Linked DNA regions of Homo sapiens: region 1 is linked to region 2. The links are contacts of gene promoters, found by promoter capture Hi-C in blood cells and fetal thymus (Javierre and others, 2016). All regions are on one chromosome and are shown on one strand. The core of a region is centred on a gene start or on the middle of the fragment in contact, and the rest is flanking DNA. Distances in the headings are between cores, read along the strand shown. Region 1 holds the start of RSRC2 (arginine and serine rich coiled-coil 2). Region 2 holds the start of RAB35 (RAB35, member RAS oncogene family).

Evidence for each region. The method cuts DNA at HindIII sites, captures the fragments that hold promoters and counts their contacts. A CHiCAGO score of 5 or more calls a contact.
Region 1: a contact is called between the fragment with the promoter of RSRC2 here and the fragment with the promoter of RAB35 in region 2, in 1 of 17 cell types (total CD8 T cells). The highest score is 5.3, in total CD8 T cells.

What each region holds. Positions count from the first base shown.
Region 1 is chr12:122,523,801-122,529,002 of GRCh38, reverse strand. It overlaps RSRC2 (arginine and serine rich coiled-coil 2), which reads left to right and starts at 2,067. Exons shown (of 10, transcript NM_023012.6): 1 at 2,067-2,155. The coding sequence starts at 2,150. KNTC1 (kinetochore associated 1) reads right to left here and starts at 1,754. Exons shown (of 64, transcript NM_014708.6): 1 at 1,652-1,754. RefSeq lists an enhancer at 1,928-2,387. The HindIII fragment of the contact is 2,543 bases long and covers 1-2,082 here.
Region 2 is chr12:120,113,359-120,118,062 of GRCh38, reverse strand. RAB35 (RAB35, member RAS oncogene family) reads left to right here and starts at 1,310. Exons shown (of 6, transcript NM_006861.7): 1 at 1,310-1,464. The coding sequence starts at 1,413. RAB35-AS1 (RAB35 antisense RNA 1) reads right to left here and starts at 1,156. Exons shown (of 1, transcript NR_182302.1): 1 at 1-1,156. RefSeq lists silencers at 244-422, 410-469, 560-909, 1,070-1,379, 1,480-1,609 and enhancers at 535-1,326, 1,327-2,119. The HindIII fragment of the contact is 4,184 bases long and covers 1-3,519 here.

The DNA of each region.
Region 1 (5,202 bases), core at 818-3,317, 2.4 Mb before region 2:
GGCGTGGTGGTGTGCGCCTGTAATCCCAGCTACTCAGGAGGCTGAGGCTGTAGAATTGCTTGAACCCGGGAGGCGGAGGTTGCAGTAAGTCGAGATCGTGCCACTTGCACTCCAGCTTGGGCAACAAGAGTGAAACTCCGTCTTGGAAAAAAAATATATATATACAGTTTGCCGTCAATATCCATGTGTTCCACATCCCTAGATTGCACCTACAGGCATAGCACATTTACACTGTTACGCAAGATAAGAAATCAAGAGATGATTTAAAGTATACAGGCAGATGTTCCTAGGCTACATGCAAATACTATGCCATTTAATGACAGGGACTTAAGCATCCTAGGGTTTTGGTATCTGTGGGAGGTCCTGGAACCAATCTCCCATGGATACCAATACCAAGGGACTAATTTAGTTGTACCCACCTGAAGGAGTTTTCTATTTTTCACTTCTGGTTTTTTGAGAGACGAGGGTCTCACTATTTTGCCCTGGCTGGCCTTGATCTCCTGGGCTCAAGCAATCCTTCTGCTTCAGCCTCCAAATGTTTTGAGTTTTAAATGTTCACAGAACAATGCTTGGTTGATGGCAAACATTCAATTTTAGGTGTTAGCTAATTTGTTATTGGGCTGAGAATTGAAGATCATAGTTTTATAAATGTTTAAAGAGTTCTTCCTAAGAGCATAAGCAAGGGAACAGAAACAAAACATGTTTGGAGAATAGAGAAGTTTCAGTGGCTGGTGTTTGGGTGGGAGTGAGGAGATGAAGAAGGAGGGACAGGTTGGAATGAATACCTTTATGGGTCTCAATTTCCCACATCTGTGAAATAGAGAAACCGCCCGTAACTGCCATATTTACTTATTCAACAAATGTTTATTGAATACCTATTTACTATGTGCCAGACACCTTTCTAGGAACTGGGAATATAGCTTGAACAGAACACAAAATGTCTTTGCCATTATGAAGTTTATGTTTTTGCGGGAAAAACGGACAAAAATAAAATTGTTAATACGTATCTTGTTATGCTACCTCCACAAAAAAGCAACTGCACAAATAATTACAAAAAGTGCTAAATGATTTGAAGGAAACAGTGATTAAATGGATAAGGTGAGGCGTCGCTGAAGAAGGATTTGTTTGGGAAGGGAAGGAGGTGACATCTGAGCTGAGACCTGAATAACAAGAAGTACGCAAAACTTAGGCGGAACGCGACGTAGGCAGAGGGAACAGAGTGCAAAGACTCGGAGGCTGGGTAGGAAGCGTTTGATGCTGCTGCCGGGTCAAAGCAAAAGCAGAAGACAGTGAGGGAGAGAGCAGTGGAGTCCAATAAAACCTCGACCTCAAGATTGAATTTTATTCTCAGTACAAGGGGTAGAAGGGGAACTCAGCAAACGAGTGGTCTGATTTTATAATTTTGAGATCACTCTGGCGGCGGAATGCAGAACAGATTCGCGAATACGAGAGAATGAGCAAGATGAAACACTTGTCAGTTAGGCCTCCATACTTAAACGCTCTCCGCTGGACATCGCCGCCAGCAAAAACCGACTCCAACCTCTCTCCTGCCAGCGTCAAGGGGAAAACAACAGGAACTGAGCAGAGGCTGCAGCTACTTCGTCCTGAACCCACCCCCAGTTCCCTACACAGCGCAGCTCCCCGTCCTCACCTGCAATTGAAGAAACTAAAGAGGAACACTCAGATATCTGGCCCCTCTTCCTGACTCACACAACCGCCTCTAGTCTTTAGGTTCCATGCCACAGGCTTAAATTGGCGGGAGAACACTAAACCCAACCCCTTTACGGCGGCCGGAAGAGACCAAGATTACTTTAGACTCGAAATAGGAAGTTGCCCCACCCTGAGTTCCGCCCATTCCGTTCTCCCGACTGCGCATTCCGGGGGTGTATTCTTGGCCCCGCCCTCTTCACGGTCTTTACACTCCCCTATGAAAGAACACCCAATCACCGCCTCGAATTGCGTTGTTATAGAAACTTTTGTTACCGCCCCTTTTTCTCCCAGCAAGCTGTGCGACGCGCCGGGCCTCCTCGCCTTTGTGCCATCCGGGTCTCTCGCGCGAGCGATTTAGTCTGAGGCGAAGCTTCGGAGCGGCCGGTACTGTTGAAAGCGACAAGTGGAGGCGCCGCTCTAGCGGCCGGGACTCTGAACTATGGCGGTAGGTACCGAATCTGAGTTTAAAGCCAGGGATATTTTTCTGCTACGTTCCAACAGTGGGTGAACGGCTCCCAGAACCTTGTTCGTGTGTATGTGTGTAGACAAAATGGCGCCGCGGCCTTCTTCTGCGCCCGCCATCATGGCTGCCTGCTGTAGGGAGGGGGAAGTAAGGCGGTGTTGGTGGGGGTGGGGAGCCGCAGGGAGTGCCTTTTTTTTTCCAGAACTTTCCTCCTCTCTTCCCCAACCCTACGTTCCTTTCGCCTCACTGAACTTCCTCCATTTTCGCTTATTCACCCTGGCTAGTGATTTATTCTAAGTTTTTTTTAGGGCCTGAGAATTTGCGGTGGAGAAAGGGGCTGGGGAAGAGAAAGACGATCAGGAGTGGTCTCTGAAAAGTATTGGGTCAAAAAGGCAGTGTCTGTAAAGGGTAGTGTGGGAGAAGAGAGCGACTTGTAGCTATTTTTTTTTTTGTACGCTCAATGAGATGCTTCTAGTTGCATAATTTCAATTAGTGTTCGTCCGTGTAAACCTTATTATTGTGTATTAACGAGCTAGGAAGGTATTGCTGAAAGGGAGTGAAAATTCAACTTAAAAGGTTGTGGAACTACCAATTCTGACTGATGCGCGGTTTCCGAAGTGGCCCGTGATGTAATCAATTTGAAGTCCGAGAAGCGTTACAGTTAAGTCTTGTCACTGACCTTGTTCCTTTAAATTTAAACCCTTCGTTGGCCGGGCGCGGTGGCTCACGCCTGTAATCCCAGCACTTTGGGAGGCCGAGGCGGGCGGATCACGAGGTCAGGAGATCGAGACCATCCCGGCTAAAACGGTGAAACCCTGTCTCTACTAAAAATACAAAAAAATTAGCCGGGCGTAGTGGCGGACGCCTGTAGTCCCAGCTACTTGGGAGGCTGAGGCAGGAGAATGGCGTGAACCCGGGAGGCGGAGCTTGCAGTGAACCGAGATCCCGCCACTGCACTCCAGCCTGGGTGACAGAGCGAGACTCCGTCTCAAAAAAAAAAAAAAAAAAAAAAAAAAAAAAAAAAAAAACTCTTCGTTGACCCCAGAGGAGCTACAGTTCGTAAATTATCTATTCTGAACAATAAGCCTGCGTGTGTATAAGATACCCAATTCTGACGGATCCACATTATTTTGTGCTTACCTCATTTTTATTCCGTTAAAAGGAAAATGTAAAGATTTTGCATTCCTTTTTACTGACTAAAAAATTACATCATTTTCGATAATAATTATGACTCTTAAACATAGTGATAGTTTTAAAGTTTGCTCTTCCTAACGATTGGAATGCCTGGGATTAGGCAGATGATTTTCTTTTTCCCCCATACCCCTCTATTATTTAGGTGATTGAGTTTAAACCCGTTTCTTTTACTGTCTTCCTTTGTTTAGTGTTTTGGGCCTCAGTATACTTAAAGAGTAATACTATTTTTCTTGGGTTGCAGGTTTTTTTGTATTTTTTCGAGACGGAGTTTTGCTCTTGTCGCCCAGGCTGGAGTGCGATGGCGCGATCTTGGCTCACTGCAACCTCCGCCTCCCGGGTTCAAGCGATTCTCCTGCCTCAGACTCCCGAGTAGCTGGGATTACAGGCGCCCACCACCACACCCGGCTAATTTTTTTATATTTTTGGTAGAGACGGGGTTTCACCACGTCGGCCAGGCTGGTCTCGAACTCCTGACCTCAGATGATCCACCCGCCTCGGCCTCCCAAAGTGCTGGGATTACAGGAGTGAGCCACCGCGCCCGGCCGGGTTCTAGTATTTTAAAAAGTGAATTTAAACATTTATTTATGCCGTGCCTTGTTCAATAAAAAGACAGTCCCCTAGAGAAGTGACCTAGTATTCAATCCAGTGCTTACCTCCTTCGCAGTGGAAAAAGATTTGTCTATGTTTCGAGCCGTTATTAGAGTTTGCAACAAAATGTAAATTATAAGAAACCAAAGTGGCTACCTCGTAGAGCCACTGCTGGAATAGAAGGCTGTTTTGCAGTTAACGTTTATGTGTACACATAGATTAGTACTAAATTAAAGCTTAGAAAATTTCAGAGCAATTTTAATACTCAGTTTTTGGTAGGTTTTTTTCCTGGATACCTGTATTATGCTACTATAAAATATCCTCAGGGAAATAAAAGTTTTCCATGGCCTCAATGACCACCTATCATTCCTATTTGTTTAGTGTTAAGATGGTTTTTGTTGTTGCTCTGTAGTATATTTTACAGATGAAAATGGTTGATGATGTAAGTTTAAGTTAGCCTATGTCACAGGGAGGTTTCTCTGTTGTCCAGCTTTGTGATGTTAAGCATGAAGTTAAAGTTAGATAAACCATTGCCTGAAAACTGCCTAGGCTAAGCACTAGATTTTCCATGAGAAGGTTGTTTTCGATTCTAGTCTTGTTCTCTGCAAAAGTAAATGGGATTTGCCACTAGTTAAGGAATTCTGTCTCTGGCAAAAGTGTCGTGCAACTGAGAGAAGTAATAGCGGTGCTTAAAATTTTCGAGATCACTTCTGTTTACCAAGTGTAAGCTGTACAAACACTCAGCAAGTAATAAATGAGTCTGAAATAGTCCTCAAGGATAACGATGAAAAAAAAAAGTGTCCAGAATTCATTGTGAAAAATCAGAATCATCCTTAATGATACAGCATTATTTATTAGTAGTAAACAGTAAAGATACGGAGATGCAGTATCATTTTAAGCAAGTCAGCTAATGTTGCTGGATCTCATCTGTGAAACGAGAAAGTTGAACTCTATTCTAAGGGGTGAAAACCTTTCAGCATAAAAATTTTATGGTTCCAGAAGTCACCCAGACTGGAGAAATAAGTACATATACAATATGCTGGCATGAGAGCCTCCCTGGTAGTTAATTTCTTACTGTTCTTTTTGTGCCATTGTTAGAGGAATAACACGTAATTTATGTCTTTCATCTCATAATTGAACTGCAAAACCTTTCTGTTTTTAATTTATCATTTTATTCCCTAAGTCTAGCATTGGTTTTGGCACATTTTTGACCCTTAGTAAATACTTGTTGAAGTAACTCGACCTCT
Region 2 (4,704 bases), core at 61-2,560:
CAGAAGGAAAAATAGTAACTTGTACTTTTCAGTAAACTTCTGCACATAATTTTAAGGACGAACATTGTTTTTTTTTTTTGAGACGGAGTTTCGCTCTTGTTGCCCAGAATGGAGTGCAATGGCGAGATCTCAGCTCACTGCAACCTCCGCCTCCCGGGTTCAAGCGATTCTCCCGCCTCAGCCTCCCGGCATTGCTTTTTATAAAGTCAAAAGAAAAGGAAGTTTGATAAAACAAGTAGAACTATCCGATAAATACTCGCCTGGAAAGGGACAGGATTATAAGAAACAGGTAATAAGGAGCTTAAAACCCTCTGCAGTTCTGCAGTGAGGATGGTCGTGGGGGCATACAACTTTCCGTTTCAGGTCAGTTTAGGTAGGGCAGGTGGGAACTCACTCTAAAACGAGAAACCGGGGCTGATGACAAAATGCACACGTTTAGCTTCTGGCGGCCCAGGTCTTCCTAGCCGCAGATTCTGAGACGTGTATCTGCAGGTGGTGTGAAATTGAAGCCGGGGGAGCGGTTGCTTTCGGTCTCCGAGGTGCGCCTTGCACACTGGGTCATTCAGCTCCCAGGCTCGGCTCGGAGCTGGACCACTCCCTCCCCTCCACCAAAGAGGCAATGTGGGCTCCAAGAGGTCACAGCGCTGGGATGGGATTTCGACCCCGCGCTGCCCTCAAAGGCCACCTCCTCGCAGCTCTGCTCCCGCCGGCAGCTCCCGTTCTGTCCAACTCGGAAGCCGCCCGCCGCCCTCGGCGTCCACTCCACAGGCCCGGGGCCGGGGCCAGCTCCGCGGGGGAGGGGTCGGTGCGGAAGGGGCGGGGTACCGGGCCTTCCCCGCGCGACTCTGCCTTCTACGGCCCCGGCCCCTGCCTCTGGAAACCCGGAGCTCGTGCGAGCCCCGCCCCACGGTCGCGGCGTGCCTGTCATTTCCTCTCCGCAGGGCGTGCGGGTCTCGAAGATGAGGGAGCAACAACGTCCACGACCGGGCTTCTCCGGCACCTTGGGCTTCTTTCCGCTGGGACTCGACAGCGGCTCGGCTCCGCAAGCTCTCAGCGCCCAGGGTGGCGGCGACGACGCTCCCCGAGGAGACGCGAGGAAGACGGGCCCGCGCTTGCTGGGACTCCGTCAGGGCGCGTGCGCGACCCGGGCGCGGCCGGCTCAGGCTGCGGCTGCGCAAGGCGGTGCCAGACGCTGCGCCTGCGCAGTGGTGGGGCGGGGCGGGAAGGAGGGAGGCGGTGGTAGCGGCGGCGGCTGCTGAGGAGGAGGAGGGGGAGCGGAGGGAGGTGTTTCTGTCAGTTCCGGCTGTTTGTTCGGGAAGTGGATCCGCCGCTGCCGGAGCAGCCCGAAGGGAGCTGCGGATCGCGAGGCCAGTACCGACCCCGCCCGCCCGCGCGCACCGCCCCCGCCCGCCATGGCCCGGGACTACGACCACCTCTTCAAGCTGCTCATCATCGGCGACAGCGGTGAGGGCCGCAGCGGCCGGAGGCGGCGCGGGCCCTGCCGGGCGCGGCCCGCGGGGGCCTCGGGGCGGCAGGCGGGCGGGGAGGTGCCGGCCCGTGCGGGGCGGGCGGGCGGGGCAGCCCGGCGGTCTGGGCCCCAGGGGTGCGCCGAGGGGCTCCGGACCGCGCCGAGGGGAGGTTGGGGCGCGGGGCGGAGGGGCCAAGCGCGCCGGGTCCAGTCATCGCGCCTGTTCCTGCCTCACGTGTGACCTTGGTCAAGTCGCGCGATCTCTGGAGTTGGAGAGACGTGGGTTCGAGTCTCAGGACTACCACCTGCCTCGCGCTGACCTTGGGCAAGTTGCTTCGCCGTCCTGAGCCTCAGTTCCCTCATCTGAGAAGTGGGGATGTGCCTTGCTGGGTGGTGTGAGGATTCGATGGGATAAAGTAGGAAAAGTGCGTAGCGCCCTACCCGGTAAAGTAAGCTCGAAGTAAATGTTCACTATTGTCATTATCATCAGTATCCTTTATAAGCGTCAGTTTCTTCCCATCTAAAATGAGGACGTTCTCAGAACCTGCCTCATGGGATTGCCGTGAGGTTTAAATGAGGTAAGTCGGATAAAGGGCTTTGCACAGGGTCTGGCATATTCCTGCTGAATTATTATATCCCTGCGTGGTTCAGTTTCCTCATCTGTAAGATGGAATGATAGTTGGATCTGCCTTATGGGGTTGATGTGAGTATTAAGTGAGATTCTGCAGTGTTGCTCACAGCTCCTGGCACATAGTGAGTTGTCACTGTTTGCTGTTACACTACTATATACAGAGGGGTCCTGGGGATGGGACAGCCAAAATTATAAAAGTGCTTTGGCCACACACACACACTGCTTGAGGGCTCCTAGCTCTGATCACTGCTCTAGCTCCAGTGCCTAGAACAGTGCCTGGCACCCAGTACATGCTTAAGACATATTTGCAGAAGGAATTAATGAATATTAAGTGTCCTTCGAAAAGGTAGACTGGTTTCTGGGAAAAGGTGGAGGGTTTTAGAGCTGTTTGGAGTGTGGCAGGTGAGCAGGTTTATGGAGTGACCAAGAGGTCAGGAAGGCAGGCCCCAGAAGGTTTATGGGAGCGAAACTGAGGTGCTGGGGTTATATGATGTTCATGAAAGAGTCTTGGGAGCATGCTCAGTTTGTAGACCAGACCTGAGCTGAGTGTGGGGAGGGATGTCTTATGATTGGAGGCAGAGGCCAGGCTGGTGGTAGAGCCCATGGACTGTTAAGGAAAGGGGATCAAATCAAGTGAGCGGTATGACTTGGGATGTAGGAGTGTTGGGTAGCGATGTCAGAGCTAGGTCAGGGAAGTGGGTGGTTTTGGCCTCCCTTTTAAAGCTGGATGGAGATGTGGTTGGTGGTTTGGATCAGGTGAAGGATGGCTGAGGTTTCCGTGGTTGCTGGAGGAGGGGAGAGGTAAGGGGGAAAGCTGGGGGCTAACCAGGGAGATGGAAGAGTAACTGAGGTTGGGGAAGGAGGTAGAAAGGTGGAGTACTGACTGGTTATGGTTTGAATGAAGGGAAACCAGGCAAGCTCTGGAGTGTTCTCTTGGAGATGGCCTTTGGTATTCTTCAGGGTCTTGAGGCTTCTTCCTTTACATGATTTCCTTGCAGCCCTGGCCTGGGTTCTGAGGGACTGGCACTGGGGCCATTTCTCTCTTTTTGGAGTGACAGCCCGCCGTGGTCAGGAGCCTTTATCCCTCTGCAAGACATCTGGACCTCTGCGTTGATATCCAACAGTGAAAAGCCTAAACTCAGCAGGAAGATGCAGCTTGTTGGCTCTTCTCCTCTGTAAAGCCCAGGGGATGGGTTTGGCCCGCTTTCTCACAGTACATTTTGTGTGATGAATTGATTTTTCTCTCCGAAGTCAGGTGTGGGAGAAGACTCATTGGGTCGAGATTTATGTGGTCTAGCTCCTAGGTCAGCCATGTAGGCGTAGGTTGTGCAGAGGAGATGGATGCTGTGCTCTTTGATTTCTCCCGACATTGAGATCCTCAAAGCTGGGAGATGGTAGCCATGGAAGTCCAGACTAAGCTTTGGCAGCTGAGCCCAGAGACTGACATTACACACTCCCCTGAACTGGGCTCCTTGTGTGAATGCCTCCTTAAGATATGTTGAACGATTTCACAGACGCTTATTCTCACCCGCCCCCTGTGTGATTTGTCAAATAAGGAAACTAAGGCTTAAGGCCGGGCGCGGTGGCTCACGCCTGTAATCCCATCACTTTGGGAGGCCAAGGCGGGCAGATCACCTGAAGACAGGAGTTTGAGACCAACTTGGGCAACATGATGAAACCTCGTCTCTACTAAAAATACAAAAGTAGCCGGGCATGGTGGAATGTGCCTGTAATCCCAGCTACTTGGGAGACTGAGGCAGGAGAATCGCTTGAACCTGGTAGGCGGAAGTTGCAGTGAACCAAGATCGCACTATTGCACTCCAGCCTGGGCGACAAGAATGAAACTCCGTCTTAAAAAAAAGGAAACTGAGGCTCAGAGGAGGTGACTTACTTGCCCCAAATCACATAGCTCAGCAGGGGCAAAGCCGGGAGCCACTGCATCTCAGTGCTAATACGTGTGCGAGCAGCTCATGTCAGGGCTGGCAAACAATAGGCCCTCCATGAATGCTGGTTTCTTTCTTCATAAATCTAGAGTTCTGCCCACTCTGCACATTGTGGATGCTTCTGCAATGGATTCCCTCAATCTCTGCATCCCTTCGTTATGCCGGAGGTTCTATATTTTCTTTTTTTCCTTTTTTTTTTTTTTGAGACGGAGTCTCGCTCTGTCGCCCAGGCTGGAGTGCAGTGGCGCGATCTCGGCTCACTGCCGGCTCCACCTCCCCGGTTCACGCCATTCTCCTGCCTCAGCCTCCCGAGTAGGTGGGACTACAGGTGCCCACCACCATGCCCGGCTAATCTTTTGTATTTTTAGTAGAGACAGGGTTTCACCATTTTAGCCAGTATGGTCTCTATCTCCTGACCTCGTGATCCGCCCGCCTCGGCCTCCCAAAGTGCTGGGATTACAGGCGTGAGCCACCGCGCCCGGCCAGTTCTGTATTTTCTATACTTTCCCTTATACTCTCTGACACTGGCTTTGATTTGTAACAGCATGTCGTCTGCATCCCTCAGGCCAGCCATCCTCATTTGGAGATGGAGTTAGCCCTTCACTTGACAGATGAGTAAATTGAGGCTCAGAGAGGGGGCGTGACTTGTGTGAGGTTATACA